Linked DNA regions of Homo sapiens: region 1 is linked to region 2. Evidence: promoter capture Hi-C in human tissues and cell types (Jung and others, 2019). All regions are on one chromosome and are shown on one strand. Each heading gives the region's core, a stretch centred on a gene start or on the middle of the fragment in contact. The rest is flanking DNA. Distances are from core to core; before and after follow the strand shown.

The links. Contacts are between HindIII fragments. The study calls those that stand out against the background at their distance.
Region 1: a contact is called between the fragment with the promoter of ULK1 here and the fragment with the promoter of RAN in region 2, in 2 of the 25 tissues and cell types used here (dorsolateral prefrontal cortex and hippocampus).

What each region holds. Positions count from the first base shown.
Region 1 is chr12:131,891,108-131,896,624 of GRCh38, forward strand. It overlaps ULK1 (unc-51 like autophagy activating kinase 1), which reads left to right and starts at 3,515. Exons shown (of 28, transcript NM_003565.4): 1 at 3,515-4,005; 2 at 4,494-4,586; 3 at 4,676-4,717. The coding sequence starts at 3,895. LOC124903059 (a long non-coding RNA gene) reads right to left here and starts at 3,051. Exons shown (of 2, transcript XR_007063538.1): 1 at 2,740-3,051; 2 at 1,951-2,468. RefSeq lists silencers at 3,185-3,234, 3,265-3,774, 4,842-4,991, 4,917-5,211, 5,182-5,241 and 1 more. The HindIII fragment of the contact is 30,695 bases long and covers 1-5,517 here.
Region 2 is chr12:130,868,543-130,874,690 of GRCh38, forward strand. It overlaps RAN (RAN, member RAS oncogene family), which reads left to right and starts at 3,524. Exons shown (of 7, transcript NM_006325.5): 1 at 3,524-3,584; 2 at 4,042-4,087; 3 at 4,294-4,378; 4 at 4,461-4,586; 5 at 6,004-6,148. The coding sequence starts at 4,052. It also overlaps the pseudogene RNU6-1077P. RefSeq lists enhancers at 2,564-3,325, 2,749-2,828, 3,326-4,087, 5,316-5,385 and silencers at 3,109-3,568, 3,639-3,778, 3,829-4,038. The HindIII fragment of the contact is 9,011 bases long and covers 529-6,148 here.

The DNA of each region.
Region 1 (5,517 bases), core at 2,265-4,764, 1.0 Mb after region 2:
CAGGAGAATCACTTGAACCAGGGAGGTGGAGGTTGCAATGAGCCGAGATCGCGCCATGGCACTCCAGCCTGGGTGAAAAGAGCGAAACTCTGCCTCAAAAAAAACAAAACAAAAAAAAACAAAAACAAACACATTCTGAGGCTGGGTGTGGTGGCTTATGTCTGTTGTTTAATTTTATTTATTTATTTATTTATTTATTTTGAGATGGAGTTTCACTCTTGTCTCCCAGGCTGGAGTGCAATGGTGCGATCTCGGCTCACCGCAACCTCCGCCTCCCGGGTTCAAGCGATTCTCCTGCCTCAGCCTCCCGAGTAGCTGGGATTACAGGCATGCACCACAACACCCGGCTAATTTTGTATTTTTAGTAGAGACAAGGTTTCTCCATGTTGGCCAAGGCTGGTCTCGAACTCCTGACCTCAGGTGATCAGCCCGCCTCGGCCTCCCAAAGTGTTGGGATTACAGGCGTAAGCCACCACGCTGGGCCGATGGCTTACGTCTATAATCCTAACACTTTGGGAGGCCGAGGCGGGAGGATCACTTGGGCCCAGGAGTTTGAGACTAGCCTGGGCAACATAGTGAGATCTCATCTCTACAAAAAATACAAAAATTAGTAGGGTGTGGTGGCGTGCACCTGTAATCCCAGCTGCTTGGGAGGGTGAGGCAGGAGGATCACCTAAACCCAGGTAGTCAAGGCTGCAGTGAGTGGCGATTGAGCCACTGCACTCCAGCCTGGGTGACAGAGTGAGACCCTGTCTCAAAAAAAAGAAACTGTGGTACATATACACCATGAAATACTACACAGCCATAAAAAAGAATGAGATCATGTCCTCTGCAGCAACATGGATGGAGTTGGAGGCCATCATCCTAAGCGAACTAACACAGGAACAGAAAACCAAACACTACATGTTCTCACTTATAAGTGGGAGGTAAACACTGAAAATATACGGGCCGGGCGCTGTGGCTCACACCTATAATCCCAGCACTTTGGGAGGCCGAGGTGGGCAGATCACGAGGTCAGGAGATCGAGACCATCCTGGCTAACACGGTGAAACCTCATCTCTACTAAAAATACAAAAAATTAGCCAGGTGTGGTGGCGGGCGCCTGTAGTTCCAGCTAATCGGGAGGCTGAGGCAGGAGAAAGGCGTGAACCTGGGAGGCGGAGCTTGCAGTGAGCCAAGATAGCGCCACTGCACTCCAGCCTGGGCGAAAGAGCGAGACTCCGTCTCAAAAAAAAAAAAAAGAAAATAGGACACAAAGAAGGGAACAAGAGACACCAGGTCCCACTTGAGGGTGGGAGGGTGGGAGGAGGGAGAGAGGATCAAAAAACTACTTATCGGGTACTCTGCTTATTACCTGGGTGATGAAATAATCCGTTCATCAAACCCTGTGAAACATAATTTACCTGTATAACAAACCTGTCCACACACCACTGAACCTAAAAGTTATAAAAAGAATAAAAAATTTAATAAGACCGCACAAAACAAAAAAGAAACATGTCCTTCCTCGGTGGGCCTAGTAACGGTTTCCAAATGCAAATCCCATCTTGCCATCCCACCCTCTCCTAAACTCTTCCTGGGTATTTCTTTGAGTTTGGGGTGAAGACCCCGTTAGCTTGGCTTTCCAGGCCAGGGTGGGCTGGGCTGGGGTTCCCTGAGTACTTTCCAGGAGTACAGGCTTCGCCATCTCTAGCAATCTCGGCCCTCACGGTCTGCCCTGATCACCTCAGCACGTAGCCACCTGTTCACTCATTTTTCTCTTGCAATTTTGCCACGGGTGGTGCAATCTTTGCTCTTCTTGTCCCCCACCCCTAAGCGCTGGGAGCTCCTGCAGGCGGGTCTTGTTCTCACTGTGTCAACTGCAGCACTTACCTCGCAGCGTGTGCTCTCTGGGCAGGCCGGTGTGCAGCAGGCACTCCAGGATGTGAGTGAATGCTATGGCTGACTACGGGGCACTGTGGAACCTCTTTATTGGGAAAACAAACATGGTGGGCCAGGAGACCTCTTGTCCCTTCCAGCTCGGTGGCTTCTGGCCCCCAGTCCAGGGTCGGGAGTCTGTGTGTCCTGCGGCCTGGAGGATGAGCTGGGTGCAGGTAAAAGGCATCCAGGACTTGCTGATCCAGCCCAGGGCATCAGGCTGTCCAGCTGCTGGGCTGCTCTGGGAGGCAGCATGGAGGGTCCTGGCTGAAGTGTGTGTTTCTGGGCTGTTACTTTAGGACTGTACTGAAGGCTGGGTTGGTGAGCATTGTTTAGAATCATGCATTTGCAAAAGCAGTGCTTGCACGTGGTGAAAGCCATTCCAACTAGCGCGCAACGTGTACGGTGAACAGCACTAACTTTTCCCCGGTCCTCTCTCCCAGAGCAATCGCTGTTGGCTGTGTCTTCTGTGAGTGAGCCCCCGGGCTCTTTTGGCTGCCGGCGGTGTGACTTTGGACACATTCTCCAACTTTTCTCCGCCTTGATTTCCTCATCTGTAAAACAGGGACATAACAGCAAGTGCCTCGTGGAATCATTGAATGGATGCACTAATCGCTGGAAAGTGCGCTGCTTGGCCTAAGTGATGAGTTAGCTGTCATTATAGTTAGGAACGACCATGTACACATTACAGGCGTTTCACACACACACACATCCCAATCCTACCGCTTTCTTAAAACGACAGACAGTACAGTGCCCTGTTCCATATTTTGCTTTTACTTAATTATAATCTTTGGAGAACTCACCCTTGAGCACAGGTATATTTACCTCTGTGCAGTGTTCCACAGGACCGATGCGCAGCCCATCTAGCTAACCTTTCCTCCCCAGCGGATTTATGGGCTATGTCGTTGGTTTGGGTGACAACTTTTTGGTCTACAATTTTTTTTTTTTTTTTTGCAATTTGGCATTATGGAACTCAACTTTAAATGCCTAACCTCTAACTCAGCCATTCTATTTCTAAGAATTAATTCTGCGCAGTCCCCCGTTTTGGGAACATTTCCCACGCCTGTTCTCCATTCTCCTGTAGAAGGGGAACAGGGAGCGGGAAGGAGGGGAACAGGGAAGGGGAGGGAGGGGAACAGGGAGGGGGGACAGGAGGGAGGAGAACAGGCAGTGGGGGCGGGAGGGGAGCGGGGGGGAAGGCATGGGAGGGGGCGGAAGGGAGGGGGCAGGGAGGGAGAGAGGTGATGGGAAGGGGAAAAGGAGGGAGGAGGACGGAGAGAGGGGAAAGGAGGGAGGGGAGCAGAGAAGAAGCGGGGCGGGGAAGGGGCGGGGAAGGGGCGTGGAAGGGAGTGGGGCAAGGAATCAACACTGAGCCCCGTGGCCCGCTCCCGGGTCAGCGCGCCTCTCTGCTCTCACCGGGGCGGGTCCGCTGTTGGCCCCACCCACTCCCAGCCCACCCGGCCCCGCAATGGCCCGGCCCAGCCGCCCACCCCCCCGACAGGCCCCGCCCCATTCCCCGCCCCCCGTCTGTTCGTCACGCCCGGCTCTGCCGCTCCGTCCCGCAGGCCCCGCCCTCATCCCGCCTCCCGGCCCGGCGCGCAGTGCGGCTGCGCGGGCGTCTCAGGCTCTGAGGCCCGGGCGCCGCGGCTCTTTTGTTTCTCCGTTGGGGCCGAGCCCGGGCCCTAGTTGGAGCCGGAGTCGGAGTCGGAGTCGGATCCGGATTCGGATTAGCAGCCCGGGAAGAGTGCCGTGGCACAGGCGCCGGAGGGAGCGCGACCCTCGGACCCCGCCTGGCCCGCGGGGCTGGGACCCGGCCCCGGCCTGCCCGATGGGGCGCGCGGCCCCGGAGATGCGCCCTCGCCCGGCCCCGCGCCCCCGGCCCCGCGCCCCCGGCCCGCCCGCCCCGGCCCGCGCCTCCGCCTGAGTCCCCCGCGCCTTGGCCCGCCACCCCCCGCCCCGCGCCCCCGGCCCGCCTGCGCCATGGAGCCCGGCCGCGGCGGCACAGAGACCGTGGGCAAGTTCGAGTTCTCCCGCAAGGACCTGATCGGCCACGGCGCCTTCGCGGTGGTCTTCAAGGGCCGCCACCGCGAGGTGAGGCCCCCGTCCGGCCCGGGATCCCCCGCCCAGGATCCCCTGCCCCTGCATCCCCGCCCCGAGATTCCCCGCCTGTCCCGGGACCCCCCCACGCCTCCCGAGAGCCCCACTCGACTTTCCAGGCCGACCCCCACCCCAGGATCCCCACCCCGCGACCCCCAGCCCGACTTTCCAGTTCAGACTCCCGCCCCGAGATCCGCTGCCGGGCTTTCCAGCCCAGATCCTCACTCCGAGACCCCCAGCCCGACTTTCCTGTCCAAACCCTCACCCCGGGACACCCCGCAACCTGGTCCCACAGCCGGCTTTCGAGGCTGGATCCCTACCCCAGGACCCCCAGCGCGATCCTCAACCTGGCTCCCCACTCGGCCTTCCAGTCCCGGGATTCCCAACCGGGATCATCTCAGGGCCCCACCTGTGTGGACTGGGGTCTGGGGGAGGCCTGCGAGGGGCAGCCCTGGCCTTGAAGGTGCACGTTTGGCTTTCAGAAGCACGATTTGGAGGTCGCCGTCAAGTGCATTAACAAGAAGAACCTCGCCAAGTCTCAGACGCTGCTGGGGAAGGAAATCAAAATCCTGAAGGTGAGCCAGTGCTGGGGGAGGGGGCGTGGGCGTGGGCGTGGGCAAGCCCCCCTCCCCACACTGATAACAAACTTGGGTTTCTGTCCTAGGAACTGAAACATGAAAACATCGTGGCCCTGTACGACTTCCAGGTAAGGCCTCTGGGCTGCGGTCTGCTGGGGACCGGGCTGGGGGACTGTGGCCCCAGGTGCTGGATCCCCTGGTGAGCACTGGTGTTGAGCCTGTCCAGGCTGGGGTCTACTGGGCCCCTGGAGACTCCACCCTGGGTCCAGGCCTGGGCTGGTGCTGGCTCTTGCTGTGACTTCCCCAGCTGTGAGACCGGGGAGGGGGTGTCTGGGCCGCAGGGCGCCCCAGGGCAGGGCTGAGTTCTCCTGAACAGGCATCCCCTCCCCGCCGGGCGTCAGTCCTAGGGGCCCTGCCTGAGTCCGGCGTCCCCGGCTGGCCCTGGCAGCACTGCCGGCCTGGCCCACCTGTCTAGGCCGTGTGTTTGTTGACATTGCTCCTGCGGCCGGCATTGGCCGGCCTCGCTCTGCGTCAGACGGGGCGGGGGAGGGGCCGCCGGAGACTCCTGCTCGCTGGCAGTCAGGGCCGGGCCGGGGCACAGGCGGCTGCCGCTGGCTGGCCAAGGAGATGACCTCGGGCCCGGCTGGCCCCAAGAAGCAAGCGGTGGGACCAGCTGGCTTTCGTGCTGCCTCCGTGTCCCGGGGCCCAGGGCAGGCAGGGCTGGGGCTGTGGGAGCCAGGGTGCCGTCCTGGGGACCAGGAACCTGAGGCGGGAGATCCGCCCCGCCAAAGTGCTGACTAATGGCTCTGTGACCTGTTTACTGAGCCCAGGGCCCAGCCCCTGGCTGAGGGAAGGGCTGGCAGGCCGTGTTTTGGTGGCCTCCTCCGTCCGCCTCTCAGAGCTTTGCTGTGGCCTTGGGGACCGAGGC
Region 2 (6,148 bases), core at 2,274-4,773:
CAATCCCGGACTGGATCCTAAACCAGGCAAATGGTGTTAGTGAGACATCTGACAGTTAAGGGTCGAGATTAGATAATCAAATTAGAGCAATGTTAACTGCCTGATTTTGATAAGTGTACAGTGGTTATGTAACAGAATGTCCTTGGTTTTAAGAACTGCACATCAAAGGGCATCCTGTTTGCCACTTACCTCAAACATTTCAGAGAAAAAAAGTCATATATATACACACACACCTAATTACGTCTTTATAAAATCACATATAGGTATATAGGTGAGATCAGCTGGGGCAACATAGTGAGACCCCATTGCTACAATAAAATAAATAAAAAATTAGCTGGGCCTGGTGGCACATGCCTGTAGTCCCAGCTACTAAGCAGGCTGAGGTGGGAGGATCACTTGAGCCCAGGAGTTCCAGGCTGCAGTAAGCCACTATGCTCCAGCCTGTGTGACAGAGACCCTGTCTCTAAAAAAAAAACTAGAGACTAAGGAGGCCTGAGAAACAAGTTAAAAGCGTAACATGCAATCCTCGACTGGATTCTTGTAGGGGAAAAAACGCCAAAAGGTATAAACACTGATGTTCTCATCACCCAGAATTATACAAATGGTTAATATATTGTCACCTTGCTTTGATTACCATTTTTAAAATTAATTTTCTTTCTTGTTTTTTTTTTAGAGACATGGGTTTCACCATGTTGCCCAGGCTGGTCCTAAACTCCTGAGCTCAAGTGATCCATCTGCCTTGGCCTCCCAAAGTGCTCGGATTACAGGCGTGAGTCACTGCACCCAGCCTGATTAGATGGAGTTTTGCTCTGTCGCCCACGCTGGAGTGCAGTGGTGCGATCTCTGCTCACTGTAAGCTCCACCTCCCGGGTTCACGCCATTCTCCTGCCTCAGCCTCCCGAGTAGCTGGGACTACAGGCACCCGCCACCACGCCCAGCTAATTTTTTGTATTTTTAGTAGAGACGGGGTTTCACCGGTTTAGCCAGGATGGTCTCGATCTCCTGACCTCGTGATCTGCCCGCCTTGGCCTCCCAAAGTGCTGGGATTACAGGCGTGAGCCACCGTGCCCGGCCCTGATTACCATTTTTTAAAAAAGAAATGGAACATTGCAGGTAAGGTTAAACTCTTCTATGACCTCTCTCCGCAGTTCCTGGGTGACAAGAGCGAGAATCTGTCTCAAAAAAAAAAAAAAAAAAAAAAGAAGAAGAAAAAAAATTGTCATCCTTGCGCAGGGGCCATGCTAATCTTCTCCGTATCATTCCAATTTTGGTATACGTGCTGCCAAAGTGACCACTCGATTACCTATTCCAATATAATGAAACCCTGTTTCTACTAAAAATAAAAATAAGATAAAAATAAAAAAAATAGCTGGGTGTTGTGGCGCATGCCTGTAATCCCAGCTACTCAGGAGGCTGAGGCAGGAGAATCACTTGAACCTGGGAGGCGGAAGTTGCAATGAGCCGAGATCGCACCACTGCACTCCAGCCTGAGCGAGAGTGAGGCTGTCTCAAAAAAAAAAAAAAAAGGAAATAGAACATTGCAGGTAAAGTTAAAGTCTTCTTTGACTCCTCTTCTCAGTTCCATCACACTCCTTTCTACCCTTTCTTGAAGCAATAACCATCAGGATATGGTATATAGATCCTTGCAGTCAATTAAAAAAAACAACAAAATACATATATCCAATAGCCAATATGCTTTTGTTTTATGTGTATTTGTAAAAAATATACATAAATGACATTATACTATATATATAATCCCTCTAGATAAAGTTACATATAGTGTTAGGTTTTATGTATTAATTTTTGAAAACAGGGTCTTGCTCTGTCTCCCAGGCTGGAGTGCAATGGTGAGATCATTGCCCATTGCAGCCTGTAACTCCTGGGTTTAAGGGATCCTCCTACCTCGGACTCCCAAAGTGCTGGGATTACAGGTGGCCTAGACTTTATAAAGCTGTTATCACCTCTTTCTTCTTTTCTCAACACTATCCTTTTGACATCTATCTAACCCTGTTGAAACAGATGACCGTCATTCCTTTTAAATGTTATACAGTATTAAATGTTGTGCACATGCGTGAGGCATGAGTTTAACTCTGGGGCCTCTCCCTAGAAATGGAAATCCGGGGTCACAAGCAATGGGCATTCCCGTTTTACTGTTAGATTCTGCTCTCCCGCCAGCAGCGTCTGAGAGGTGCTTGGGGTTCCCCTGAGGGTTCTGGGGGAGCTCGGACTTGCGTTCCCAGCAGGCCGGTTGTCGCCTGCTTTGTGCCTAATTTGCGTCACTGGGGTTCCTAGCGGACTCGCCTGCAAGTGTGCTCAGGACTGCAGGGAGGACTCTTCGGTCACTGCGGCTCTCTCCCCATGGTGGACTCTTCTGAGGCGCTTGACTGCGCTGATTTGGGCCTTTATCTGTCTGCATGTCGGCAGGGGCGCCCAGGAAGTCGGGTCCCTCTAGCTCAAGCTTGTTTGGGCTCTTACAGCTTCAGGCCAACAGGGGGCTGGGAAGCTGAGCACTTACTCATTCCGTCCCCGTTGGTAACTAGGGCTGGTAGACGCGTCCAGACTGCAAACAGTATTTCATCATTTTGTCTGTAGCATGCAGCGGCCAAAGCTGCCAACCTATGAAACGCTTTGAGAAGCCGGACGCTTTGGGAGGCCGAGGCGGGTGGATCCCCTGAGGCCAGCCTGGGAGACATAGTTAGATTCTGTCTCTCAAAAAAATTTTTAAAAAATTACCCCTGATGTGGTGCGCGCCTGTAGTCCCAGCTACTCGGGAGGCTGAGGCGGGAGGATCGCCCGAGCCTGAGAGTTCGAGACCAGCCTGGGCAACGTAGCGAGACTCCGTCTCTTAAAAAAAATAAGTAGCCGTTTTTCTGGGTGGGTGCATCCCTCTCTGGTTCCTCGCTCTCCAACTGGCCCTGGTCCTGGGGGCGTGAAGGCTACGATCTGGAGAGACAGAACAGCGGGCTGCCTCTGGAGGACGGGCCTAGACCCCATTCATTCATTCATTCGTTCTGTCACCCACCCGTCCTGCGCGCACGCGAGCCACCCTAAGCCCCAGGACCTCAAGAACCCCCACCCCACGGGGCACAGACAAGGACAGGCTGGCCAGCGCCTGGAAGCCGCGTGCCTGACCACGTCTGCCCGAGCGAGTACCGCCTCCCACCCGGGAGGCAGGAGAGCCGCGACCGTCGGGCCGCGCCCAACGTCTCCCGCTCAGGGGCGCGCCGCCTCGCTTTCAGCGCATGCGCGCCCGGGAGCCCGCCCGGGGCGTCGGCGCACGCGGTCCCCACCGGCCGGCTTGCGTACGCGCTCCCGGCTCGCCCTCCCACGCGGTCCACCGCGCCTCCCGCCCCACCCTAAGCGCAGCGACCGCCCGAGCGGCCGACCGAACCGCGTTGCGTGCGTGCGCGCACGCGCGGGCCACGTGGGCGGGCGCCGCGCCGTTGCCCCGCCCCTTGCAACCCCGCCCCGCGCCGGCCCCGCCCCTGCTCTCGCGCCGGCGTCGGCTGCGTCTCCGGCGTTTGAATTGCGCTTCCGCCATCTTTCCAGCCTCAGTCGGACGGGCGCGGAGACGCTTCTGGAAGGTATCGCGACCCGGCGGGCCCGGCACGGCCGGGCGGGGACAGGGGTGGCGGCGGCGGGATAGGGGTCGGAGCCGGGGCCAGGGCCGGGGCGGGTGGCGGACCCAGGGGCAGCGGGCGGCTGAGTAGGTGGGTGGTGCGGGCCCGGCCGGGCCGGGGCAGGAGACGGGCGTGGGGTCGGCGCTAGCCCCCGCGAACCCCCGTTTCATCCTCCGCTCTCATCCCCGTCCCGGTCCCAGTCCCGTTCCCATCCCTACACCTCCGGCCGCCGTTCCCCGGGCCCCGCCGCCCCGGATGCCGGCCCCGCCCGCCGCCTTCCCGCTCCCAGGCCTGGCCGCCATGGCGCCGCGGGCGGGAGGCCTTTGTGGGGCGGGCACGTGGGGCGCTGGGGGCGCGGGAGCGGGGCCGCCATGGGCTGCGGGGCCGCGCGAGCGCTCGCCTCCGTCCTCTGCCTCCGCAGGAACGCCGCGATGGCTGCGCAGGGAGAGCCCCAGGTCCAGTTCAAAGTAGGTAACCCTGCGGGGCGGGAGGCGGCCGAGCCCGACCGCGTGCGACTCGCGGGTCCCTCCTCCTGGGGCCACGATGGCTGTAATGGGGCCCCGCATCCACATTCTTTGTTTTAAGTGAGCCTGTGGTGGTTAAAGTTCCGTGACTCTGGGATCTTGAGAGGTGAAGTGTTTAGGGTTTACTTCCAAAATGTGTTTTTCAACAGCTTGTATTGGTTGGTGATGGTGGTACTGGAAAAACGACCTTCGTGAAACGTCATTTGACTGGTGAATTTGAGAAGAAGTATGTAGGTATGTGCTGGAAAACCTTGCTTGTGGAAATATGTGAGAAATGGGTAAGTTCATCCACTCAATCGCATCGTTTCCGTTTCAGCCACCTTGGGTGTTGAGGTTCATCCCCTAGTGTTCCACACCAACAGAGGACCTATTAAGTTCAATGTATGGGACACAGCCGGCCAGGAGAAATTCGGTGGACTGAGAGATGGCTATTATATCCAAGGTAGGCATTTGTAACTTGCTGAACGGTTTTTGAGAGGTTTTGTGTACTTCAGTCTTCAAGGTTATAGAAAATCAGGTCTGTTCCAACAAATAGTGTCATTTTTGGGTTAAAAAAAGACAAGTGGACTTCGGGGAGTTGACCACCATTTTGGTGGCAGAGAAAATTTTATTAAAGTTGTGTCATTTGCATGCTGTGTCATGCTAGGCATGCTTTAGAAAAAACTATGACTTACACTGGGACTTATAAGTCATATTTAAAACAATAATAGGCTGTTAACAGCAGTTTCAGTATTTGGAAACTTAGGTTCATGTATGTATTTTGGTGTGGTGATCAATGAATGTTTTTACTGTATTAGAAAACAATAAACACCAGATACTAGACCAGAGGAGATAGGAGATCTTAACAAGTGTTATACAAGACTAGCTGATTTCTTGTTAAATTGTTTGTACTAAGTTGTGCAGAGTATTTTTCTCAAATAGTTTGATTTAAAAATTGCAAGGAAAATGTTCATTGTACCAAAAAGAGGAATCAAGAAAATACTCATCTCTCTTGGAACCTCACGTTGCCGATAACACATTATCTGGAATCATTCCATGCCTTTTGCTTTCCTTGAGCATGTACAAATAAACACAAGAATTTCCCCCAAAAGAATCCTTTAACCAAAAAGTTGTGGTTTCTTGCCTTGCTAACTGTACCATAGTTATTCCTGCAGGTGAATATATAGGCTTTATCTGGGTTATTTATTTATTTAATTTTTTTTTGAGACAGGGTTTCGCTCTGTTGCCCAACCTGGAGTGCAGCTTCCGCCTCCTAAGCTCAAGCCATCCTCTTACCTCAGCATCCTGAGTAGCTTGGACTATAGGCACGTGCCACTATGCCTGACTAATTTTTGTATTTTTTTGTAGAGATGGGGATTCACCATGTTGCCCATGCTGGTCTGGAACTCATGAGCTCAGGTGATCCACCCACCTCAGCCTCTCAAAGTGCTGGGATTACAGACGTGAGCCACATTGCTTGGCCTATCTGGATTTTTTAAGACAGGAATAATGTTTTCCAGTATAGCCAGCCATTTAAAGACCTTCTGAAGAATGTGTTTCCAGGCCCTACCCTCAGAATATGGCAGCTTGGTTATCCAGAATCTCATTTAGCATTAATTACTTCAGATACTTTTTTGGGATGAGGGGAGTATTAATGGTGAAGTATATCAGGGAGATTTGATAGGGTCAGCTCATCTCTCTTAGGAGGAATTGTGTATTAACATTTTTAGAATTGACAGAGACCTTGAAAGTGAGGGGAGAGATACAGGTGACTCGTTGAGGTCTAAGACTATAACTAGTTGAATCCTAGTCTCTGGTTCTTAGCATTCTTCACTTGTGCAGTAAACTGAGTGTACTAATTCCCACAAATGTTTCTTCAGCCCAGTGTGCCATCATAATGTTTGATGTAACATCGAGAGTTACTTACAAGAATGTGCCTAACTGGCATAGAGATCTGGTACGAGTGTGTGAAAACATCCCCATTGTGTTGTGTGGCAACAAAGTGGATATTAAGGACAGGAAAGT